Linked DNA regions of Homo sapiens: region 2 is linked to region 1. The links are contacts of gene promoters, found by promoter capture Hi-C in human tissues and cell types (Jung and others, 2019). All regions are on one chromosome and are shown on one strand. Each heading gives the region's core, a stretch centred on a gene start or on the middle of the fragment in contact. The rest is flanking DNA. Distances are from core to core; before and after follow the strand shown.

Region 1 (2,700 bases), core at 187-2,686:
TACAGTCCCCTCTTACAGGAGGGTGCCTAGCACCTAATCTGCATTTTACTTACATTAATTTGCATGGCCAACTTCAACCCCCACCCAAATACCCATTATGTGGGATCCAACTTCTCTGGGTTTCATCTAACAACAAACTCTTGAAGAAGGAGGAAGGGGCAGAGACTCCTGGGACTGGATAAGTCTGGGACCAGGGCAGGGGTGGCATTGGGCTGAGCTGGGCAGGGCAAATGAGAAGACAGCTGTCTTCTGACTTCCTCTCTGTCCAGTAGAGTCCTTCATTCTCAGTCCCAAGGTAGGAAAAATGGCATTTGTGGGCTCCAAATTGAGGGACTAGGAGGAAGACAAATACAAATACCTCCCTTCAAACAGCCCTCACATATACATACACAAAGACAACACACAATCCACAATCGCACTCACCCAGGGACACACAGGGCCAGGATCCCATGGCCACCTCCACACTTTGGAGCACACTGTCACAATGCACAGGCCCAGAGCCTAGCACTGCTGGCAGAGCCGCCCTGCCCCCGCATCTTCCCCACAGTTGATATGTCACATTGGAGTCCAAACACGGACCTGGGTGTCTCTCTGCAGCGCGCCATTTACATTTCTCTCTCGATCTGTCAACCTGTCCCGGCTCTGTCTCTCTTCCTCTGTCTCTGTCTCTCCCTCTCCCCCTCTGGGGCTGTCAGTCCGTCTCTTTTCGAAGCTTTGTCTCTGTCTCTGCATCTCTATCTAGCTTTCCTTCTCTTTGATTTCTGTCGCTCCTTCTCTGCTTTCTTGTCGGTTTCTTGCTTGCTCCCCCGGGCTGATCTGTTCTCTTATTTTCTCTCTCTCTCTCTCTCTCTCTCTCTCTCCACACAAACACACACACACACACACACACACACACACACACACACACTCCGCTCCGCGCCCCAATACTGAGGGGTGGGGGTAGGGTTGGCTAGAGATTTGCCTTTTCCAGTTCAGGCCAACTAGTATCAGTTGAATCCTTTACCATGTTATTCGGTCACGGGCGCTGAGGTGCGTGGGGTGGTGAATTTCTATCTTTTCTAGCCCTTCTTATTTTGTTTTCTGTTTGTTTGTGAGGTCCCTCCCCCTCATTTTAGCTCGGGAATCTACCCCTGTCTTCTCTGCGTGTTTGTATCTTGACCCCTCTTTATCCCATCGCTGTTTTGGGTTTCCTCTGGCCTCTGAGAATGCCAAACTCCGGGTAAAGGGTAAAAGTAAAGATACAGCGGGGGCCGCGAAACCCTGAAGAACCCGCTCAGAGCCGGGAAGGAACCTAGGGGCAGTGGGGGAGTGGAGGGGAGGCGGGGAGGACGTGGGTGGGGGCCGCTGCCTGCCCCGCCCCCGCACTTCCCACTCTGGGCACCAGGGGTCGCTCCGCCTCTGGCCGCTTATAGTGGCTCCCGCCGCGCGGCGCCTCATACCACCCGCGCCCGGGAGGGAGGGGAGGAAGGTTAGGGAGGCGGAGAGGGACCGCGCCCGCAGGAGAGAGGCGCGGGCCAGGGCTCTAGCAGGGACTGGGGCCGCGGCAGGGGTAGCAAGGTGAGTCGGTGCTTGCCAAGAGGCAGAGCGCAAAACCTACTAGGAGATCGCGCCCGGTGAGCAGCACCCGCAGCTCAGAGCCCGGGACGTCCGGAGCGCGGGGAGCAGTCCCCTCTCCATCAGGGAGTGGTCTATCTGGGCAGTCTGGGACCCAGGCACCGCGCCATCCCTGAGAGAGCAGCAGTCTGGAGAGCAGGCATCTCAGATCCCTAAGAAACCAGCCGTCCGAGAAGCCGCGGATCTCAGGTGCCCAGGATCGTTAGGACTGAACGGGAGGGTACTAGAGGACCACTGGCTCTGGACCGTCGGGAGCTGCCCCTGACGTAACCCACGAGGGGCCTCCCCTTGACGGACGGCTTGGGGAGCGGCACCGCCGCGGCTGGAGCCCGCAGAGGCAGGGTAAGGGGAGCGGGGGGCAGCCGTCGGGGGAGTGCAGACCCAGGCCCAAGGCGGGTCACCGCCTCCTGGCCCGCGGAGAGCCCCGGCCCCGGCAGCCATTGCGCCCAAGAGTGAGGAAGATTTGCTGGCCCTGGCAGCGTCGCGGCTGAGCCGCCGCAAGAGGGTGGCGGGCGCGGCCGTCGGAGTGGCCATGGTGCTGCTGCTGCTGGTGGCCATCCCGCTGCTGGTGCACAGCTCCCGCGGGCCAGCGCACTACGAGATGCTGGGTCGCTGCCGCATGGTGTGCGACCCGCATGGGCCCCGTGGCCCTGGTCCCGACGGCGCGCCTGCTTCCGTGCCCCCCTTCCCGCCAGGCGCCAAGGGAGAGGTGGGCCGGCGCGGGAAAGCAGGCCTGCGGGGGCCCCCTGGACCACCAGGTCCAAGAGGGCCCCCAGGAGAACCCGGCAGGCCAGGCCCCCCGGGCCCTCCCGGTCCAGGTCCGGGCGGGGTGGCGCCCGCTGCCGGCTACGTGCCTCGCATTGCTTTCTACGCGGGCCTGCGGCGGCCCCACGAGGGTTACGAGGTGCTGCGCTTCGACGACGTGGTGACCAACGTGGGCAACGCCTACGAGGCAGCCAGCGGCAAGTTTACTTGCCCCATGCCAGGCGTCTACTTCTTCGCTTACCACGTGCTCATGCGCGGCGGCGACGGCACCAGCATGTGGGCCGACCTCATGAAGAACGGACAGGTGAGATGCCCCTCTCC
Region 2 (2,700 bases), core at 139-2,638, 520 kb before region 1:
ACCCAGGCTGGTCTCGAACTCCTGGACTCAAGCAATCCACCACCTCTGCCTCTCAAAGTGCTGGGATGACAGGTGTAAGCCACTGAGCCTGGCCACTTCATTCCTTTTTATTGCCAAATAATATTCTATTGTATGAATAGACCACATTTTATGTATCCACTCATCAATTGATGGACATTTGCTTTCACCTTTGTCTATATGAGTAATACTGCCATAAACATTCCTGCTTTTTGTGGGGATGTGTTTTCACACCTAGGAGAAGCATTGCTGTGTCATATGTACCTATGTTTAACTTTTTGAGGAACTGCCAAGTTGTTTTTCGAAGAGGCTGCACCATTTTATATCCCATCAGCAATGGATGAGGGGTTCCAATTTCCCCACATCCTTGCCAACTTGTTGATGTCTGTCTTTTAAATTTTAGCCCTATTTGTGGATGTGAATTGGTATCTCATTATGGTTTGAGTTTGCATTCCCTAACGAGTAGTGATGCTTAGTATCTTTTCATGTGCATAGATTGCTTTTTGTTCACAGATTACTTTTAAATTACAAAGGAGAGGTCTGGCACAGTGGCTTACACCTGTAATCCCAGCACTTTGGAAGACTGAAGTGGGTGGATCGCTTGAGTCCAGGAATTCAAGACCAGTCTATGCAACATGGTGAAACTCTGTCTCTATTAGAAATACACAAATTAGCTGAGTAGCACATGCCTATAGTCCTAGCTACTTGGGAGGCTGAGGTGGGAGGATTATTGGAGCCTAGGAGGCAGAGGTTGCAGAGAGCCGAGATCATACCACTGCACTCCAGCCTGGGCAGAGCGAGACCCTGTCTAAAAAAAAAGTTACAAAGGAAAAAATGATAACACTACATTAGAGAAAACTGTTAGGTTCCAACTTAATCATGAATCACAAATAATGGCACAAATTGACACTATGTGTTTTCTGATATGATGTGCTGAGAAGGACAAAAATATACTTTATAACACTTCTGCCAAAAAAATGCAAAGCCGGCTGGCAGGATGTCTCACATCTGTAATCCTAGCACTTTGGGAGGCCAAGGCAGGAGGATTGCTTGAGCCCAGGCAGTGAAGGCTGCAGTGAGCCAAGTCTATGCCACTGCACTCCAGCCTGGGCGACAGAGTGAGACTCTATTTCAAAAAAAAAAAAAAGAAAGAAAGAAAGAAAAAAAGAAAGAAAGAAAAGAAGAAGCAAAGCCTGAATCTTATCATGAAGAAATATTAGACAAAACCAAATTGAGGGTGGTGCAGCGGCTCACACCTGTAATACCAGCACTTTGGGAGGCTGAGGCAGGTGGATCACTTGAGGTCAGAAGCTCGAGGTCAGGAGCTCGAGACCAGCCTGGGCAACACGGTGAAACTCCATCTCTACTGAAAGTACAAAAATTAGCTGGGCATAGTGGCACATGCCTGCAGTCCCAGCTACTCGGAAAGCTGAAACATGAGAATTGCTTGAACCTGGGAGGCGGAGGTTGCAGTGAGCCGAGATCACGCCACTGCACTCCAGCCTGGGCGACAGAGTGAGACTCTGTCTCAAAAAAAACCCAACAACAACAAAAAAAAACAAATTGAAGGATATTCTGCAAACTAAATGGCCTGTTTTCCTCAAAAACGTTCCGAAATGTAGGCTTCTGGTGGCATCTCCAAAGGAGGCTATACTCACAGTTGTAATATTTGAGTAATATTAAAACTACTTAATTTGTTTAATGTTGATTAAAATATATATATGCACACACATTTTATGTTTACTTATGAATAGAAAAAACCCTAGATGGATATATATTAAAATGTTAGTTAGGCAAAGCTATCCTGAGCAAAAAACAAAACTGGAGGAATCACATTATTTGACTTCAAATTATACTACAGAGCCATTATAGTAACCAAAACGGCATGGTACTGGTATAAAAACAGATACATAGACCAATGGAACAGAAAAGAAAACCCAGAAATAAATCCATACATCTACAGTGAACTCATTTTCAACAAAGTTGCCTAGAATATACATTAGGGAATGGACATTCTCTTCAATAAATGATGCTGGGAAACTGAATATCCATATGCAGAAGAATGAAACTAGGCCTCCATCTCTCAACATATACAAAAATCAAATCAAAATCGATTGAAGTCTTAAATCTAAGACCTCAAACTATGAAACTACTAAAGGAAAACACTGGGGAAACTCTCCGGCACATTGGGCTGGGCAAAGATTTCTTGAGTAATACCCCACAAGCACAGGCAACCAAAGCAAAAATGGACAAATGGGATCACATCAAGTTAAAAAGCTTCTGCACAGCAAAGGGAACGATCAACAAAGTGAAGAAACAACCCACAGAATGGGAGAAAAAATAGTTGCAGACGATCCATCTGACAAGGGATTAATAACCAGAATATATAAGGAGCTCAAATACCTCAATAGGAAAAAAATCTAGTAATCCAATTAAAAATGGACAAAAGATCTGAATAGACATTTCTCAAAAGAAAACATACAATGGCAAACAGGTATATGAAAAGGTGCTCAACATCATTGATCACCAGAGATATGCAAATCAAAACTACAATGAGATATCATCTCATCCTAGTTAAAATGGCTTTCATCGGAAAGATGGGCAATAACGCATGCTGGTGAGGATGTGGAGAAAAGGGAACCCTCATACTCTGTGGGTGGGAATGTAAATTACTACAACCAC

The links. Contacts are between HindIII fragments. The study calls those that stand out against the background at their distance.
Region 2: a fragment that was not itself captured here is called in contact with the fragment with the promoter of C1QL4 in region 1 in 1 of the 25 tissues and cell types used here (lymphoblastoid cells).

What each region holds. Positions count from the first base shown.
Region 1 is chr12:49,335,924-49,338,623 of GRCh38, reverse strand. It overlaps C1QL4 (complement C1q like 4), which reads left to right and starts at 1,436. Exons shown (of 2, transcript NM_001008223.2): 1 at 1,436-2,683. The coding sequence starts at 2,147. RefSeq lists a silencer at 1,263-1,672 and an enhancer at 2,041-2,700. The HindIII fragment of the contact is 14,355 bases long and covers 1-2,700 here.
Region 2 is chr12:49,856,645-49,859,344 of GRCh38, reverse strand. No RefSeq gene overlaps it. Among named protein-coding and RNA genes, the nearest start is that of BCDIN3D, 15 kb to the right of the region's middle. The HindIII fragment of the contact is 5,384 bases long and covers 1-2,700 here.